Linked DNA regions of Homo sapiens: all the other regions are linked to region 2. The links are contacts of gene promoters, found by promoter capture Hi-C in blood cells and fetal thymus (Javierre and others, 2016). All regions are on one chromosome and are shown on one strand. Each heading gives the region's core, a stretch centred on a gene start or on the middle of the fragment in contact. The rest is flanking DNA. Distances are from core to core; before and after follow the strand shown. Region 1 has its middle 4.2 kb from the start of GPR19. Region 2 holds the start of CREBL2 (cAMP responsive element binding protein like 2). Region 3 overlaps DUSP16 (dual specificity phosphatase 16).

Evidence for each region. Contacts are between HindIII fragments. The CHiCAGO score rates a contact against its expected background, and 5 or more counts as called.
Region 1: a fragment that was not itself captured here is called in contact with the fragment with the promoter of CREBL2 in region 2 in 1 of 17 cell types (total CD8 T cells); the score reaches 5.3 in total CD8 T cells.
Region 3: a fragment that was not itself captured here is called in contact with the fragment with the promoter of CREBL2 in region 2 in 2 of 17 cell types (naive CD8 T cells and non-activated CD4 T cells); the score reaches 6.6 in naive CD8 T cells.

The regions. Positions count from the first base shown.
Region 1 is chr12:12,698,770-12,702,063 of GRCh38, reverse strand. It overlaps a transcript of GPR19 not described here. Among named protein-coding and RNA genes, the nearest start is that of GPR19, 4.2 kb to the right of the region's middle. The HindIII fragment of the contact is 1,179 bases long and covers 770-1,948 here.
Region 2 is chr12:12,610,195-12,613,175 of GRCh38, reverse strand. CREBL2 (cAMP responsive element binding protein like 2) reads right to left here and starts at 1,300. Exons shown (of 4, transcript NM_001310.4): 1 at 989-1,300. The coding sequence starts at 1,003. RefSeq lists a silencer at 947-1,246 and enhancers at 1,407-1,456, 1,507-1,586, 1,180-1,931. The HindIII fragment of the contact is 19,687 bases long and covers 1-2,981 here.
Region 3 is chr12:12,492,103-12,495,196 of GRCh38, reverse strand. All of the region lies in intron 4 of DUSP16 (dual specificity phosphatase 16), which reads left to right. Among named protein-coding and RNA genes, the nearest start is that of DUSP16, 69 kb to the left of the region's middle. The HindIII fragment of the contact is 3,950 bases long and covers 1-3,094 here.

The sequences.
Region 1 (3,294 bases), core at 110-2,609, 89 kb before region 2:
TAAAAATCAGACAATAACATAAACATAAGGCCAAATATGTGTTCTATAAAAAGATGATGCAAGCAAAATGCTTATAGGAGAGATCAGGAAAAGATTTACTGAAGAGACAGCCTTTGTCCATTCTTTTTTTTTTTTTTTTTTTTTGAGACAGGGTCTCACTCTGTCACCAGGCTGGAGTGCAATGCCATGATTATGCCATGACCTCTTCAGGCTCAAGCAATTCTGCCACCTCAGGCTCCCAAGCAGCTAGGATGACAGGCACGCACCACCACACCCAGCTAAAGTTTTCATATTTTGTAGAGCCAGGATTTCGCCATGTTGCTCAGGCTGCTCTCAAACTCCTGGAGTCAAGCAAACCTCCTGCCTTGGCCTCCCACAGTGCTGGAATTACAGGCATGAGCCACCTGGCCTGGCCTTTGAAATGGTTCTTTAGAACTCAATGGATTTTAGCTGGGAGAAAGGGGTAATTGAGTAAATCAAATGGGGCGATTAACTAAATGTTAACTTGGTGAATAGAAAGGACACTGTCCAAAATATCCCATAATTGGGTACCAACTCTTTGAAATTATAGGATTAGGATTTTCTCTCCCTTTTGTCTACTGGCAGTCCTATCTCCCACAATAAAAGCTTTATATGCCAGATATAGTCATTATTAGCTAATGGGCAAGCAACAAATGGGGAGATAATGTTAATATAATTCAGAAATTACATTGCTTCATTCATTATTTTTCCCAGCACACTAACATTTTGGGGCAAGCAGGGACAAGCTTCTCACAATTAAAGAGAAAACCTTAGCAACATATAAAGATGTTAAGAAAAAAAGCAGAAAATTCTGCAAGAATGCCTTCCTTTGGTGCAAACAGAGGCTTGTTTGGTGGCTTCAAGAGTTTTTTACAACATTAAGTTCTGTGGTAAACTGCAAAGTGTAAATGAAGGTGCAAAACCATTTTACCCCATTGGGGGAAAACTGATTGATAAAAAAGACAAAATCCTCGATCGGATTTTTAATTTTGATGAAACTGCTCTTAATTGGAATTAATACCCTCAAGGGCATATACATCCAAGGAAGAATCATGTGCCCCAGGATTCAAGAAACTAAAGCAGCACTGTCCAACAGAAACATTCGACAATTTAGGTTTTCTGGGAGCCACATTTTTAAAAAGTAAAAGTAAAAAGAAATGTTGAAGTGACATTTCAACATGTAATCAATATAAAATTTATTGAGATTTTTACATTATTTTTTATACTAAATTCTTAAAATCTTATGTGTATATTTTATACTTAACAGCCCTTCTCAATTTGGACTATCACATCTAAGTGTTCAATAAACACAGATGGCTAGTTACTACTGTATTGGACAGCATGGCCCTAAAGGATGACTGTGATATTGAGTACAAGTGTCAGAGGGAATTTAATTGTGTATTTTTTATTAGCATAGTAATTTTTATAGCCCTCAACTAACAAAGTTGCAAAGGTTTTGAGTGACCTGCTTCTAACCCTATATTTCCCACAAGTCCTGTTATTTTTAGTGCACCATTAAAAAAACATGCTTGTTTTCTCTGTACATACTTCCCTAAGCCTCCCTTGAAGCTAAAGGTAGTCATATGACATAGTTCTGGGCAGTAAGAAATAAAGGGAAGTCTGCAACATCATATGGGAAACATTTTTTGCCCTTATGAGAGAGTCTAACAAAACAACAACAACAACAAATAGCCAGGTGTGGTGGTGCATGCCTGTGATTCCAGCTTCTTGGGAGGCTGAGGTGGAAGAATCACTTGGGCCCAAGAAGTCAAGGCTGCATTGAGCCATAATCATGCCATTGCACTCCAACCTGGGCAACAGAGTGAGACTCTGTCTCAAAAAAAATAAAAAATAAAAAATAAAGGGACAGAGAGAGAGAGAAAGAAAGAGAGAGAAAAAAGAAGAGAGAGGCCTCAAGGAGAAAGCTTTTGGCCAGGTGCAGTGGCTCATACCTGTAATCTCAGCACTTTGGAAAGCCGATGTGGGAGGATCGCTTGAGGCCAGGTGTTCAAGACCAGCAGGAGCAACATGAGGAGACCCCATCTTTACAAAAAAAAAAAAAAAGAAAGAAAGCTTTTTTTGGCTCATACTCTCTTTTCTATTTGAAACATTTCATATGAGAACATGATGTTTGGAACTGCGGCAGCTATCTTGTGACTATGATAATAGACTCTTTAATACATTGAAGATAACAGACCATAAAGGTATCTCTCCTTATCAGAGATGTAAATGGAATGAAGTCAGCCATGCAAACATGCCAGTAGATGGAGGCAAGGGCAGAGTTCCCTAGCAGGAAGTAGAGTGCATCTGCTTCCTGTCCTCAGTGGGCATTATTTGACCAGTCACAAACCAAATTTGCCCTTCTTTCTCCCTTTTCCCCTCTCGTGCTGAAGATTCTCTTCCCTCTGATTGAAACACTGTTTTAGTGATGGGATCTTGCTATATTGTCCAGGCTGGACTTGAACTCTTGGGCTCAAGGGATATTCCTGCCTCAGCCTCCTGGGTAGCTGGGACTATAGGCATGGGCCTGTGCCAGCAGAAACATCCTTTCTTTAGGTATGACAAGAGTACTGAATTACCCCCAATACTTAAGACCTGAGTGCAGAGCTAAAAGTAAGCAAAATTTATTTGGCTTATTAGGGATTCATACACAAACCCTGCAATTTGGCCCTAATATGTATGTTTTCAATTTTTTTTTCTTGAGACAGAGTCTTGCTCTGTTGCCCAGGCTGGAGTGCTGTGGCACGATCTCGGCTCACTGCAACCTCCACCTCCCAGGTTCAAGTGATTCTCCTGCCTCAGCCTCCCGAGTAGCTGGGATTACAGGTGTGCACCACCACGCCCGGCTAATTTTTTGTATTTTTAGTAGAGACAGGGTTTCACCATGTTGGCCAGGCTGGTCTCAAACTCCTGACCTCATGATCCACCCACTGCAACCTCCCAAAGTGCTGAGATTACAGGCGTGAGCCACTGTGCCTGGCCAAATTCATTCTTTCTTTTCCCTGGAGATTAAGCTAATTTCAATGCTCATACTGACTGTGATAAACCAAATTTTTCATCTTCCCTATTCCCTATCTCCCAAACTGTTCCCTATGTATTAGTTAGGAGTGACTGTAGAATGCTATATAAAATGGGCTGGGCACAGTGGCTCATGCCTGTAATCCCAGCACTTTGGGAGGCCAAAGCTGGCGGATCACGAGGTCAGGAATTTGAGACTAGCCTGGCCAACATGGTGAAACCCCGTCTGTACTAAAAATACAAAAAATTAGCCGG
Region 2 (2,981 bases), core at 51-2,550:
AAAGGCGGCCAGGCGCGGTGGCTCACGCCTGTAATCCCAGCACTTTGGGAGGCCGAGGCGAGCGGACACCTAAGATTGGGAGTTCGAGACCAGCCTGACCAACATGGAGAAACCCCATCTCTACCAAAAATACAAAATTAGCCGGGCATGGTGGTGCATGCCTGTAATCCCAGCTGCTCGGGAGGCTGAGGCAGGAGAATCGCTTGAACCCGGGAGGCGGAGGTTGTGGTGAGCCGAGATCGCGCCATTGCACTCCAGCCTGGGCGACAAGAGCGAAACTCCGTCTCAATTAATAAATAAAGACAAAAAGGCTATACATAGATAAACTATTTGGATTAACCAATAATGAACATTATCTATTATTTTATAATCATAAAGTAAGTGATTTGGACAGGGAAATTGGATGGTGATGGGCTATTAAAGTTAACAAGAGGAAAATCAGTATTTTTTTAGAGAAGGCTTTCTAGTGGAGGTTAAACTCCACACTGGCCAAATAGCAACAGGAGCTTAGCGGTGTTCCAACCAACCACAGGAAATAGCTCAGAGGGGGAGTGAACTGATTATATGAATGGGGCATTGAGTAAGGGAGCCTGAGAGAAGGGGAATCGTCAAGGGGAATAAGGCTGGTTCAGCGTGCACTAAAGTCTCCAAACTGGAGAGAGGAGGCAGCAAAAAAGTGCAAGAAGAAAAAGTACAGTAGTTTCTTATCTCGACAGGCAAGTTAAGGACTAGGGGTTGCACTACCTGGAAAGCTAGCAAACGCCCTGGGAGTGAAAAATTTCCAGAGAGGGCCCTTCCTGGAAAAACGCAGCCCCGGTGTTCCCTGATTTCCTGGCTGGGTACCATCGGGCAGTGGACTGGAGAGGCGCAGGGATGTTTTAGGCAGGTGTCTCTTGGGTGTTGGCGTGGACTACATAGCGGAGGTTCAGCCGCGGGACTAGCATTGAGCGACAAGAAGGCGGCGGCGCGTGCAAACCACAAGACTTACCTTACTGTCATCCATCGCGGCAGACAGGCCGGCCTGGCCAGGCACTCCCTCCCGGAGCCCTCCCCCGGCTCAGCCGGCCTGGCCCGGCCCCCGCCCCGAGGAAGAAGGGGATATGGTTCTGGCTGCCTCCTCCTCTCGCCTAACAGTTCGCTTCCCTGATGCCAGAGTCACGGGGACGAGGGACCAGTTCAGGAATGGCAGAGCGGACCCTGGAGGCGGCCCCAAACGCCTCCCTTCGCCGCCGCCGCCTCCTCCTCCCCCTCCATGACAGTCTCTGGGTGTTTACAGACGCTCTGGAGAGCCGCCGAGACCGGAGGGTGGGCGGGAGCGCTGCACACGGAATGGCCCCTTCGGCTGCCGTAGCACCGCGGCATTCTGGGAATTGTGATTTTTCTTATCACAGTCTCTGCGCTACTGACTGGAAAAAAAACTACGATGTCCACATAGCCTCATTAAGGGGCAGCTGTTTTCCTTTTGCCTACTAGCTAGCGCTGAGGAGGCGGGGCTGGGCTGGAGGCCCAAAGTGCGCCTGACCTGAGGTTTTGGCTCCTAAGTGCCAGGGCCTGGAATGGCGGGGACGGGAGTTTGGTGCTCTGCGGAGGCAGCCCTGAAGGCGGGGTGCCGGAAGCAGGCCCTCCTCTGGGACGCTGAGGAAACCCTAAAGGTTCTTTATTTAAAAAAAAACGAAAAACAAAAACTAAGTATGTAAAATAGTGCAGCTACTTTGGGAAGAAATTTGGCAGTTCTTCAGAATATTGGCCACTCCCATACCCAAGAGAAATTAAAACGAGTGACTACACAAAAACTTGTATATAAATGTTCTTTCCTAGCAGCATTATTCATAATAGTCAAAAAGTGGAAACAACGCAAATGTCCTTTACTGGATGAATGGATAAACCAGTGTGGACTATACAAATTAAGAAATACTGGCCAGGGGTGGTGGGTCACGCCTGTAATCCCAGCACGTTGGGAGGCCGAGGCGGGAGGATTGCTTTAGCCCAAGAGTTCGAGACCAGCCTGGGCAACATAGCAAAACCTGTCTCTACAAAAAAATACAAAAATTAGTCGAGTGTGGTGGCACATGCCTGTAATCCCAGTTACTGGGGAGGCTGACATGAGAGGATCACTTGGGCCTGGGAGGCAGAGGCTGCAATAAGCCAAGATTGTACCACTGCACTCCAGCCTGGGCGACAGAGCCAGACACTGTATTTAAAAAAAAAAAAAAGAAGAAGAAGAATGAAAGAAGGAAGAAGAACGATGAAGGAAGAAGAAGGAGAAGAAGGAAGAAGAAAGAAGAAGGAAGAAGACCCATATAGTAAGATGCAGTCTCTACAAAAAAAATTAAAAATTAGTTGGGTGTGTTACAAAAAATTTAAAAATTACTTGGGTGTGGTGGTGGTGCTTGTAGTCCTAGCCACTCGGGAGGCCCAGGTGGGAGGATCGTTTGAGCCCTGGAGTTGGAGGCTGAAGTGAGCTGTGATCACGGCACTCCAGCCTGGGCAACAGAGCAAGACTCTGTCTCAAAAAAAAAGGAAAGAAATATTATTCAGCAATGAAAAAAAATGAAGGGATATACACACTTCAATATGTCTGAACCTTGAAAACTTTATGTGAAGTGAAAAAAGCCAGACACAATAGGCCACATATTGTATGATTCCATTTATAATGAAGTGTCTGGAACAGGCACATCTAAATAGACCAAAAAATCCATTAGTGGTTGCCAAGGGCTAGGGTTGAAGAATGGCAGGGATGGAGGGATCCTGGAAAGGAGAGTGACGGTTAATGAGTACTGGGTTTCTTTTTGAGGTGATGAAAATGATCTAAAATTCAGCCGGGCATGGTGGCTCACGCCTGTAATCCCAGCACTTTGGGAGGCCGAGGTGGGCTGATCACCTGAGGTCAGGAGTTCGAGACCAGCCTGACCAACATGGAGAAACCCATCTCTACTAAAAATACAAAGTTGGCCAGGCCTGGGAGAGCATACCTGTAATCC
Region 3 (3,094 bases), core at 392-2,891, 120 kb after region 2:
TTACAAGCAATTTTTACAACAAGATAAAATAAGAGAACTAACATTTCAGGGGACCCTATATTATGTGTCAGGCACTTTATTATCCTCATACTGGCTTTACAAAATACACATCATTAGCCTTATTTTACAGGTGAGGAAATTAAAGCTACCGGAGGTTAGGTAACCTTCCCAAGATCACCCAGGCGATGAGTGGTAATGCGCTGGGCTGTGCTCTGGTTTTTCTGGGGCCGTTACCCATGTACTTTACTTTATTCCGTGCCACACTGAGATTCCACACTAACCACTAATGAATTGTTTCCAAGAAGAGATCCTTTAGGAGTTTGCTTTAATAAATCGATCAGTCTTCTCAGTATGGCATTTGATAAAGTTCTGTAGCTTGGCAGTAAAACTCTTTAGCTTGATATTTAAGACCTTCCAGGACCTAATACCACCTTTTTAGTTCTTACCTCTCCTGTTCTCTTCCTCTGCTCATCCTCTTTCAATGTCTGGACACACTCACCTAGTGAGTGCACCCCAGATATTTCTGTCCTGTCCTTGGTCTTCATTCATTTTCTATACTCCATCTGGAATGCCTCTACCGCCATCTGAGCTTCAGCTGACAATTTTAGTTCCCATTATAAATAGTCTTCTCAGAATCCTTCCCTTTGGTTTTACTCCTGTTTTCCACTGCCATTTTGTTTATCCTGCTACATTATATTCATCGGATACCTCTTTGTATCATCATTATTCGTGCAACTGTCTTACAGTTGCTAGTAGACTATTCATCCCTCAGTGAGAACACTTGCTTTTTTATGCCCCAGAATACCTTGATGCATAGTAAGCCCTTGGTGATTATTTTTCAAAATAAATAGTTATATCCTAATTTGTAACCCATGCAACTTGTATGAAATGTACATGTCCTTAAACATTAAGTAAACACACCTTCTGTTAATTTACTCAGAAAACCTTCTGTTAATGAATTTGAGAATCTAAAATTTTCAACCCAGGAAAAACAGTCTTTTTTAAATTATGAAATGAATGTAAGTTAATGATATTTTACAGTGACTTGTAAAATGAAAATGTGCAAGGAACATATATGAAGGTTTCTCATTAGAAGATGCTAATAAACCAGTTACTAGATACTGATTTTAGTCAGCTTCAGGGATAAGGGTTCGTTCATGTATTCGCCCAACAAATGTTTATTGAGCCTCTACCATGTGCCAAACAGTGTTCTAGGTGCTGGGGGTACACCAGGAAATGAGACAATAATCTCTGCTTTCATTAGCTTACATCCTAGGAGAAAGAAACTTGATAGGAAGCATAATAAATAGGTAAATTACATAGTATAGTACAGTATGAGTGCTATGAAGAAAACAGGGTAAGAGGGCTGGGGATTACCTGTGAGGTGTGGGTTGTAATTAAATGGGTGATCAAAGTGGCCTAATTGAGATAGAGGCATTTGAACAAACACTCAAAGGAGGTCAAAGAGTAAGCCATTTGAATATCTGGAGGAAGAGCAGTACAGGCAGAAGAAGCCACCAAGGCAAAGCACATGTGGTATGCTAAAGGAAGAGCGAGGCCAGTGTGGCTGGAGCAGAGTGAGCATGGGAGAGTGTCGTCAGAGAGGTAACAGGAGCAGATCCAGACAATACAAGATTTCTGCATAGGACTTGGAAAGACGGGAGCTTTTACTCTGAGAAAAAGAGTTCAGAGGGAGTCATTGGAAGGTTCCAAGCAGAGGAGCAACATAATCTGACTTACATTGTTAGGATCACTTTAGCTTCTGTGTTGAAAATAGCCTGAATTTCCTACTGGATGGAAGCAGGAAGGCCGGTTAGGAGGCTCCATGGTAATGTGTTGAAGTCAAGGTGGCAGTAATGGTGAGATTTGGGCTCTATATTGAAGGTATAGCCAATAGGATTGGATGGTAGGGGTGTGTGAAAAAGAGAGGTGTCAAGGAGACTCGGAGATGCAGTTGCCATTAACTGAGATGGAGTCTGTAGGAAGGGCAGGAGTCAGTTCTGGACACGCTGAGTTCGAAATGCCTGTTATACTTCCAAGTGGAGATGTTGAGTAGACAGATGGATGTATGAATGGGGCAGGGGGATCCCTGAAGGAGGAGGTATAAAGGTGGGAGTCATTAACATACAGACAGTACTTGATGTCATAAGAGATGATCAGATAATTACTAAGAGGCAAAATATAGATGAGAAAAGGATTGAGCCGTGAGCACTCCCACCCTGAAAGTCTGGGGAGTTGAGAATGACCCAACAAAGAATATTGAGAAGTAAATATTGAGGAAGGAAGGAAATCAAGTAATCAGGGAGGCAAATAAACAACGTGTTTTCCAGGAGGAAGGAGCAGTCGAGTGTGCCAAGTAGTACTTTAGGTCAAGAAAGATGAAGACTGAGAATTGGTCATTGGATTTAGCAACATGACTATCGCTGGTGATCATTGAGCAGTTTTGGTAGAGTGTTGGGGGTGAAAGCCTGAATGGAGTGGGTTCAGGAGATAACAGGAGGAGTGGAGCTGGAGATATCAAGTAGAAGGGGTTCTTTCAAGGAATTTCAAAGATATGGGGTAATGGCTGGAGGGAGACGCGAAGCTGAGAGGAGATATTTTTAAGGTGGGAGAAATAATGGTTTGTTTGATTGCAGGTAGGAAGAATGATCCTGTACAGTGGAAAATTGATGTAGGAGAAAGGAGAATCACAAAGCTATGTTCTTGAGCAAGAGGGGATGGATTTATTTAGCAAGCGGAGGGATTGGCCTTACGAGTATGGACAGTTCGCCCAAAACAGCAGGTGGGAAGGCATTATATCTGGGCGCATTTGCTGAGAGATGGGTAAATGTGGTGATGGAAGTCTATCAAAATTTGCCTCTGACTGTTTCAGTTTTTCCATTGTAGTAGGAAGCAAGGTCATTCTTCAGCTGTGAGTGAAGATGAGTGGGGACATATAGGGAGTTTGAAGAAAAAGGGAAACAGAATGGCATATGGGAAAGAGAAAAAGTGAATGGACTGGGGAAATACAGAGATTGCTGAGGAGTATGAATTGAAAGTTAGATCAGGTAGCATTGTGGAGTGTTTTTCTCTGGCCATGTTCAGTGGCATGGGC